Regions from separate parts of the Homo sapiens genome. Here region 2 is linked to region 1. Evidence: promoter capture Hi-C in 16 types of primary human blood cells and fetal thymus (Javierre and others, 2016). All regions are on one chromosome and are shown on one strand. The core of a region is centred on a gene start or on the middle of the fragment in contact, and the rest is flanking DNA. Distances in the headings are between cores, read along the strand shown.

Evidence for each region. Contacts are between HindIII fragments. The CHiCAGO score rates a contact against its expected background, and 5 or more counts as called.
Region 2: a contact is called between a fragment that was not itself captured here and the fragment with the promoter of SRMS in region 1, in 11 of 17 cell types (activated CD4 T cells, non-activated CD4 T cells, total CD8 T cells and 8 more). The highest score is 12.1, in activated CD4 T cells.

Annotation. Positions count from the first base shown.
Region 1 is chr20:63,545,570-63,550,404 of GRCh38, reverse strand. It overlaps SRMS (src-related kinase lacking C-terminal regulatory tyrosine and N-terminal myristylation sites), which reads left to right and starts at 2,656. Exons shown (of 8, transcript NM_080823.4): 1 at 2,656-3,297. The coding sequence starts at 2,942. RefSeq lists an enhancer at 2,942-3,583. The HindIII fragment of the contact is 15,344 bases long and covers 1-4,835 here.
Region 2 is chr20:63,787,003-63,791,837 of GRCh38, reverse strand. ZBTB46 (zinc finger and BTB domain containing 46) reads left to right here. Exons shown (of 5, transcript NM_001369741.1): 2 at 1,048-2,017. The coding sequence starts at 1,081. Among named protein-coding and RNA genes, the nearest start is that of ZBTB46-AS1, 19 kb to the left of the region's middle. The HindIII fragment of the contact is 7,196 bases long and covers 1-4,835 here.

The sequences.
Region 1 (4,835 bases), core at 1,407-3,906:
GAACCCTTGGGCTTAAGCGATCCTCCTGCTTGGCCTCCCCAGATGCTGGTATTACAGGAGTGAGCCGCCTCACCCGGCCAAGCCCCAGACTCCTGACCCCGTCCAGACTGATCCTGTACCCAGGCCCCTTTCCTCACTCCCCTCTGTGCCACCCACCCGGTTAGGGCTGAGGGAGGAGGTGAGGTCATGTGGGGGGGGCACAGCAGGCAGGGAAGGGGCTGCTGACACCGACACCTGGCAGGGGCCCTATGCTGGGCTGTGTTGCGCCTGGTGGGTGAGGTGAGGAAGGGGTGGACGGGCGGGCACAACTTGGAGGGCAGCGGGACAGGGCAGCTGGGCATGCGGGGCCGGGGATTCTGAGGACCACCGGGGAGGAGCTGGATAAAGCCGGCCTCGGCTGCCTGCCGACCACACTCACCCTGGCATGTGTGCGGTGCAAGGGCAGCAGGTGCAAGGAGGGGGAAGATGGGGCAGACGTGGGGAGCTGATCTGTGGGCAGGTGGGGCGGTGGGGGTGAGACACGCCGGGGCAGAGGCCCAATGGGGCCCTAACCCTGATGGCCAGGCCTGCCTCTGGTTCCAGCTGGGCATGGAATGTGCTGAGTCCTGTGCCATGATCCCGTGGCTCTAAGGGGCAGGGAGTGTCTGGGAGGAATCTGCATTCAGTGCCCTGAACATCTGACCCTGGTGTGGTGGGCACAGGAGCTTTCCATGGCCTGAGGAGGCCTCCCTGGGGCTCTGCGGCCTTGGCGTTCTAGCGGGGAAGAGTCACGTCCTAGGGAGGATTTGGGAGAGCTGGTAGCCACACCTGTAGTCCCAGCACTTTGGGAGGCAGGAGGATCGCTTGAGGCCAAGAGTTCAAAACCGGCCTGGGCAACATAGTGAGAGCCCATCTCTACAAATAATAAAAAATTTATCTGGGCATGGTGGCGCACACCTGTAGTCCGGCAGGAGGACGGCTTGAGCCCAGGAGATCGAGGCTGCCACTGCACTCCAGCCTGGGCGACAGAGTGAGACCCTGTTTCCAAAAAAAAAGTAAAGAAAAGAAATGGTGGGCAAAAGCCTCACCTGCACGTGAGGAGACGGCGGTGGGTGTGGGGAGGAGACGGCGGCGGGGGGAGTGGAGGGGAGGAGACGGCGGGGGTGGGTTGTGGGGAGGAGACGGCGTCGGGGGCGGGAGGAGACGGGCAGCGGGTGGGGGGAGGAGAGGGCGGCGGGGGCGGGAGGAGAGGGCGGCGGGGGGAAGCGCGGGAGGAGAAGGCGCTGGGGCCCCTCGAAGGCCACCCCCAATGTAGTATTTACAATTCTCCACATTTCTCAACACCCCCCACCACCCCCAGCAGGGCACCTCTCTGGTGCAGAGCCTGCCCTGAGCCTGGCGATGTCCAGTCTCCCAGGGCCCCTGCTGGCTCCAGGCTATCAGCCCGGACACAGCTTGGCTGCTGGGGTGCCCTGAGAGCCAGGCCACGGGTGTCACTGCCACCCCACAATGCACACACCAGTCCCCAGACGTGAGGTTTCTGAGAAGCCCATCTGTGACTCCAGGGCAGGCAGGTGCGAGGGGCTTGTCATTGGCTGGACACTGGTCACGCCTATTGGAGGGATGCATTCAGCCACACGCATGAAGTGGGGGCATGGATGCGTGTGAGATGTGGGAAAGGGGCGTGAGGCTCCCTGAAGGCCACCCAGGTGCGGAAGGGGCTGCTGGGGGAGGCCGGCAGGAGGAGTGAGAGACTGCAGATGGCCTCACCCCACCCCCGTGCCTCAGGACCCAGAGGGGAGGTGGGAGGAGTGAGAGACTGCAGATGGCCCCCACCCCACCCCACTCAGGACCCGGAGGGGATGTGGGAGGAGAGAGAGACTGCAGATGGCCACCACCCCATCCTCCTGCCTCAGGACCCTGTACCGTGCTGCTGGGTTTTGCTGGGATTTGCTCCCCCAGTCCTGCCCCGATCTGGGGACCTACCTGAGCGGGCAGAGTTTGCTTCAGCATGCGGGGGCTTGGCGCTGTCCAGGGAGAGGGTGGGAGGTCCCCAGCCAGGGACTCACCCGCCGCCCCTTCTCCGTGTGCTCATCCCCCTGAACTGGGGCCAGGCGTCCGCAGCCTCCACTTCCCCGCAGTGGCCTTTGGGTATGGCCTGGGCATTGACTGACTCAGAAGCCGGTCATCGGGCAGCATGGGGCATCTGGGTGCCTGGCCTGCGGCCGAGCTCCCTGCAATCAGCATCTCGTTTTACTGCATGAAAGCCGGGGTGCTGAGAGCCCCCTCACTCGCCTGTCCTCAGAATTTACTGCAGAGGCCGGAGGCTCGGCACCTGGTGCAGGGTTAATGATGTTAAAATATCTGGCCAACACTTAAATAAGCAGGCAATTTTTCACCTGAGTGCAGCTCAGGCTTGGCAACCACTGCAGGTGCTGAACAGCAGCGCTTCTCCGTGGAACCCCCACTTCTCCGTGGGCACGGGCGGCTGTTGGACTGTGGTGCCCTTGGGCATGGGCCAGGCCTGACTGGGCAGAGCCATTCCGCCTGCCTGGGCCTTGCAGAGGGCGGGAGAGAGGCTGGCCCTGCCCACCCCGCCCTCCTCGGGCCCCTCCTGGAGCCCGCCCCCGCCCCAGCCCAAGCTGCCCTCTGCCGTCGGGTTGGGGAGGGGACGGTGCACTCCAGACGCCAAGGAGGTCGAGGACAGGAGGTGCTGTCGGTGTGCCTGAGGCAGGGGGTCCGCCCTGCGCCCCACCCAGCCCCAACGCCAGCCCGGACGCCGGTGGGAACCGTGTGCCTCCTGGATCCAGGGGACCTCTGAGTGACCGCAGGGCCGGGGTCCCCTGTCACCCCACGGCCAGGGCAGGGAGCGCTGGACACCGGGTCCCACCGGCCCTGCCAGTTCCTCTTCCGGGCTCGCGGGCTCCCATGGCCCTCGGGCCCAGCGTGGTGACCCCGGGGGATGGAGCCGTTCCTCAGGAGGCGGCTGGCCTTCCTGTCCTTCTTCTGGGACAAGATCTGGCCGGCGGGCGGCGAGCCGGACCATGGCACCCCCGGGTCCCTGGACCCCAACACTGACCCAGTGCCCACGCTCCCCGCCGAGCCTTGCAGCCCCTTCCCTCAGCTCTTCCTTGCGCTCTATGACTTCACGGCGCGGTGTGGCGGGGAGCTGAGTGTCCGCCGCGGGGACAGGCTCTGTGCCCTCGAAGAGGGGGGCGGCTACATCTTCGCACGCAGGCTTTCGGGCCAGCCCAGCGCCGGGCTCGTGCCCATCACCCACGTGGCCAAGGCTTCTCCTGAGACGCTCTCAGACCAACCGTGAGTACCTCGGCCTCGGAGTCAGAGCCTGCCTCGCCCCCAGCTGGGGAGTCCAGAACAACGGCAGGATTTTGAGTTGGAAATCGCATGTCCGTGGCTATCTGTTCATTCATTCGTTCATCCACGCATTCATTCAGGGACAGCTGATGGGCCCCGGGCCGGCAGGTGTGGTAGGAAAACAGCAGTGTCCGCTGTGGGCTGCCGAGAGGGAGAGGAGGCTCCGGCAGGCGTGGTCAGGTCCTGTGGGGGGGAGCATCAGCTGCACCAGCTGGACACCCAGCAGGCGGTTCCTCCAGGACCCTGCCTGGCTGGCCAGGCCCTCCCGCCCTCACACAGGGAGTCCAGTGTTCATGGATCGGTCACTGCTTGGAGGGCAGGGGCTGGGGGCTGGGAGGCACCAGATGACAGGAGCTCCAGGAGCTCTGGGTGACGGCAGGTGAGCAGGGGCTGGGGGCTGGGGGCTGAGACAGGGGCCCATGCTCCAGGAACTCTGGGTGAGGGCAGGTGAGCAGGGGCTGGGGGCTGAGACGGGCCCACGCTCCAGGAGCTCTGGGTGAAGGCAGGTGAGCAGGGGCTGGGACTGGGGGCTGAGACAGGGGCCCACGCTCCAGGAGCTCTGGGTGAGGGCAGGTGAGCAGGGGTTGCAGAGGCGCCTAGTCCAGATGCCCAGTGCGGCTGCTCTGAGCGGCTGCCTTGGTCTGGCATCCAGCTGGGCAAGGCCTGAGCCCTGGAGACCTTCGGGGTCAGCCTTGCTCAGGGCCACTTCCAGCCTCCTGGGGGCCCTTTGGCACTCACACATCGTCCTGGGGGTTGCATGGGCGGGTGAAGCCGGAGTCACAGGAAGGGGCCTTCTGAGGGGCCCCAGGCCCTCACCCCACACCTGCCCCGCTTGTCCTGAGCAGTGGTTGGGGGGCAAGCAGCCTTTGTGATGGGAAGGGGCTCACAGTCACCCCAGGTGTGGAGGACAGACCCCTTCAGCAGTTCCTGGAGGGCAGGGCTCGTGGTGGAGCAGGGCGGTCCATAGGCAAAGCTAATGACTATTTGCCTAGGCTGGAGATTAAAAGACTAACCACACTCAGGTGTCATTAGCTCCAGACACCTGGCCCCACGCCCCAGGGAGAGACCTCAGACACATCCTCTGCATCTCAGGATCCCACAGGGGCTCACCTCTGACCCCCAAGCCCTGATGTGGGCTTCAGAGGAGGCTGGCGATGTTTTGGGGAAACACCTGTGTCTCATCCCCACACCCCACGGTGCTGGGAGGGACCTGAGTCCCTTTACACGTGAGAGGGTTGCGTCTCCCTGCCAGCAGACCCCAGAAGGCAGGGGCCCTGGCTGCAGGAGGAGCTCCATGGACAGAGCGTCCATGGAGTCAGTGCCTCAGGCCGCTGCCTCTCTGTCCCTGGTCCCACACCTCTTCCTGTCTCCATCTTCATTCCCTTCAACTTAAGCCCAGCCCCACGGCCCTGGTCATGTCAGTTTCTATTCCTGCTGCCCCCATTGCCCCCTAGGTCACCGGGGCAGGGGTGCCAGACTGT
Region 2 (4,835 bases), core at 1,294-3,793, 240 kb before region 1:
AGACAGGAGAGACTCCGGGACGGGGTGTACCCAATTCAGAAATGATTCTGTGTGTCCTGTGACTCTGTGAGGCAGGGCTGTCTTCTGATGAGGGGGACCCAGAGACCAGTCGTGTCTCAGACGTCCAGGGCGCTGGCAGCCGCAGGGCCTGAGCTCCCTCCTGCCCTGTCCCAGTGCTGGGCAGGGACCCAGGCCTAAGCCAGGAAGCCTCCCTCCTCCAGAAGACTTCAGCTCGTTTGAGCTCAGAGTTTTGGAAATTTTCAGGACTAAGGCTATGAATGCTTTAATTCCTTATTCTGTGGTTTTTTGTGTAAGAAGTTTTTTTTTTTTTTTTTTTTTTTTGAGATGGAGTCTCGCCCTGTCGCCCAGGCTGGAGTGCACTGGCGCGATCTCGGCTCACTGCAGGCTCCGCCTCCCGGGTTCACGCCATTCTCCTGCCTCAGCCTCCTGAATAGCTGGGACTACAGGCTCCCGCCACCATGCCCAGCTGCTTTTTTTGTATTTTTAGTAGAGACAGGGTTTCACCATGTTGGCCAGGATGGTCTCGATCTCCTGACCTTGTGCTCCACCCTCCTCGGCCTCCCAGATTGCTGGGATTACAGGCATGAGCCACCGCGCCCAGCCTGGAAGTTTTATTCTTTTTCCTTAAGAATGTTTCTTCAAGCGTGAGGGATGGCCACAGTGTAGGTCATTTAACCGAGTTCTCAGTTTGGGTAAGAGTTGCTCAGCCACGGCTGGGTGTTCTCATCGTTCCTGGGATATGCCAGTTGCCGTATGTGGGATTCTGTTCAGAACCCCATTAGCCTCGAGCACGGAAACACGTGGCAGACGTCCCACCCTGGACGCACTGGTGCCCTCCGGTGTTTGCTGCCCTGCTTCAGGCGGAGACACAGGCCTCCCGCTGCACACCTGTGGATGGGCTCTCGCGTGGGTCGTCCTCCCACTGGCCGCACTCTGTGCCCCATGGCCCTCCTGCGCCCCGCCCGGCGTCCTCTCACGGCCTCTGTCTGTGCTGAGCTTGGGTAACTCTTGTTCTTACCTCCACAGAGTCTGTAGAAGAGGCGACACCAGGGCTTCCAAATGAACAACCGAAAGGAAGATATGGAAATCACGTCCCACTACCGGCACCTGCTGCGGGAGCTCAACGAGCAGAGGCAGCACGGCGTCCTGTGCGACGTCTGCGTGGTCGTGGAGGGCAAGGTCTTCAAGGCGCACAAGAACGTCCTGCTGGGCAGCAGCCGCTACTTCAAGACGCTCTACTGCCAGGTGCAGAAGACGTCGGAGCAGGCCACGGTCACGCACCTGGACATCGTCACGGCCCAGGGCTTCAAGGCCATCATCGACTTCATGTACTCAGCGCACCTGGCGCTCACCAGCAGGAACGTCATCGAGGTGATGTCAGCCGCCAGCTTCCTGCAGATGACGGACATCGTGCAAGCCTGCCACGACTTCATCAAGGCGGCGCTGGACATCAGCATCAAGTCGGACGCCTCAGATGAGCTTGCGGAGTTCGAGATCGGCGCCTCGTCCAGCAGCAGCACGGAAGCTCTCATCTCGGCCGTGATGGCTGGGAGGAGCATCTCCCCGTGGCTGGCACGGCGAACGAGTCCTGCCAATTCTTCCGGAGACTCGGCCATCGCCAGCTGTCACGACGGAGGGAGCAGCTACGGGAAAGAGGATCAGGAGCCCAAGGCCGATGGCCCTGATGATGTTTCTTCACAGCCTCTATGGCCTGGAGACGTGGGCTACGGGCCTCTGCGCATCAAGGAAGAGCAGGTTTCACCGTCTCAGTACGGAGGGAGCGAGCTGCCTTCTGCCAAGGACGGTGCAGTACAGAACTCTTTCTCAGAGCAGAGTGCTGGTGATGCCTGGCAGCCCACGGGCCGAAGGAAGAATCGGAAAAACAAAGAGACCGTCCGGCACATCACACAGCAGGTGGAAGATGACAGCCGGGCCAGCTCCCCGGTGCCGTCCTTCCTGCCGACGTCGGGGTGGCCGTTCAGCAGCCGAGACTCAAGTAAGCCTTTCACTCGTTACGGGGGCTCAGCTGCCCCAGTGTGTCCAGGCCTCACGGCCGCGTGCTGTGCGGAGGCAGTGACGCATGTCCAGGCTCACACTGGTGGCTTTCTAGGGTCACTTCCTCTTACAGGAGGTTGTCGTGACCGCTGGGAATGCAGCCAATGCATCTCAAAGGGCAGGGCATCACCAGGGCCCTTGGAGACCCTGTGTATCTGTCCCCATCAGCACGGCACTGGTGTCACCCACACACGGGGGCTGCCTGGGCTGGGCCCCTCTGAAGCCACAGGGACGTGAGCCGGGGGGTGGGTGACACCGGGAGGGGACCCCTCAGCCCTGGTGAGGGCGTGGCCTGCAGGGTCGGCTTCCCCTGGCCTGTGGGACCCTCCCATGAGCCCTGACTGGGGTAACTCGACTGGCCGCTTGCCAGGGTGGCCTTCAGCTCCAGGCTTTTCATCCTGGACTTCTGCCTTTGGTCACTGTTGCTATAGTGAATGTTGAATGGAAACACCATGTGAATGTACTTTGTCCTTGGTGGCTCAGCTTGCCTTGACCTGGGGACCTGAGAGGTTACAGCCAAGAAGCAGCCTTTCCCGGCAAGTGGATTTTGTGTCTGCTGACACCTGTGGGTTCTGCTGTTGAAGCCAACAGGCGATGTTTGTTTCCTCTCTTTTCTCTTTTTCTTTTTTTTTTTGAGACAGTCTCAGCCAGGTGTGGTGGCTCACGCCTGTAATCCCAGCACTTTGAGAGGCTGAGGTGGGTGGATCACCTGAGGTCGGGAGTTCAAGACCAGCCTGACCAACATGGAGAACCCCGTCTCTACTAAAAATACAGAAAAGTAGCCTGTAATCCCAGCTACTTGGGAGGCTGAGGCAGGAGAATCGCTTGAACCTGGGAGGCGGAGGTTGTGGTGAGCCGAGATCGCGCCATTGCACTCCAACCTGGGCAACAAGAGCGAAACTCCATCTCAAAAAAAAAAAAAAAAGAGACAGTCTCACCGTGTTGCCCAGGCTGGAGTGCAGTGACGTGATCTCGGCTCACTGCAACCTCTGTCTCCCGGATTCAAGTGATTCTCCTGCCACAGCCTCCGATTAGCTGGGGATTACAGGCACGTGCCACCACGCCCAGATAATTTGTGTATTTTCAGTAGAGACAGGGTTTCACCATGTTGGCCAGGATGGTCTCGAACTCCTGACTTCAGGTGATCCACCCACCTCAGCCTCCCAAAGTGCTGGGATTCCAGGTGTGAGCCACCGCGCCTGGCTGATGTTTTTTCTTACACCTCATGATACAGGGTCTCCCCTTGGGTCCTGCCTATTACTCACTGCAAAGGGGCTCTGAGCTTAGCTCTGTTGAAGCTGGACGTCACCACCTGAATGGTTGTCCCTTATGTGTCTTCCATATTTGTAAATAATAAATTAAATGTTTGCTGAATACTGGCCACCATTCATGGTGCTGGGCATGTGATATTAATAATAATTGTGGGGATTTGGCCTCTGCTCTTTTCCCCAGGCTGTGGCCCAAGTCAAGGAAGGATATTTGGAGTTGGGTGTGGTGTTGCCTGTGCCTGTACTTCAGCTACTTGGGAGGCTGAGGCGGGAGGATGGCTTGAGCCCAAGATGTCCAGGCTGCAGTGAGCCGTGATTGCACTGCTGCCCTCCAGCCTGGACGACAGAGCCAGACCCTGTCTCTTAATTAAAGGAAAGAAGAAATGGAGGTGTCCTAGCAGGTGCTGCCCGTGGGGAGGTTCCTCCAGGATGAAGCCTGGAAATGAACGTGGGAGGGCGTGAGTGGACAGAGGAGGACGAAAGACAGCAAGCCGCAGGGTGGGAGGCCCTGAAAAATGTCGCAGATGCCGTGTGTGGGTGGCGCAGTGGGAGACGCTGCCTGCCCCCCTGGCTGGAGGGCTTCCTGGGCAGGGCGGGTGTGGCCTCTTCTCCTGACCCTGGTCCCTCCTCTCCGTCGCTGAGAGATCTGCGAGAGCCGGGAGTGAACACAGCTCGATAATACGTTAACTTTTATCATTGTGGTAGAACATACATAATGTAAACCTTACCATTTTAACCATTTTCAAATGTACATTTCACTGGCATTAAAGTCACGCGTTGCTTGATGACAGGGATAGGTTCCAAGAAACGCATCGCTAGGCGATTCTGTTGCTCTGGGAGCGTCATGGAGCGCCCGTCACAAAACTAGAAAGTGCAGCCGGTTATAGGCCCAGCACAAACCTGCCAGTGTTAGTTACGGTGCTGAGCACTGCAGGCAGCTGTGGCACCATGGGAAGTGTTTGTGTGTCTAAACATAGAAAGGGTGCTGTAAAAATAGGGTATACAAGATAACGGCATGCCTGGGTAGGGCCCCTGCCATGCACAGAGCTTGCTGCACTGCAGGTTGCCCTGGGTGAGCGAGTGCTGAGGGAACATGAAGGCTGAGGACAGAACTGTGCACTGCTGCAGACTTTATAAACACTTGGCGTGGCCTACACTAAACTGATTTTTTAAAGTTGTGCTAGGATGTGGCGATGGCTAGGATGGCGATGGCTAGGATGGCGATGGCTATTCCTGTCACGCCACCAGGTGACAGGAATTTCCCGGCTGCGTTCTAATCTACGGGACCACAGTGGTTATCTGTGGTCCATCCCTGACCAAAATGCCCTTCTGTGGCGCATGAAGTTCTGCGATCACAACTTTTCCATCATCCCAAAGGGAAACTGTATCCGTCATACAGTACCTTCCTCTTGCCTCTACCCCACCTGCGGGTAAATGCTGTTCTACTTTGACACAATGTAGATTTTATTCATTCTCATCTGTTGTTGCTGT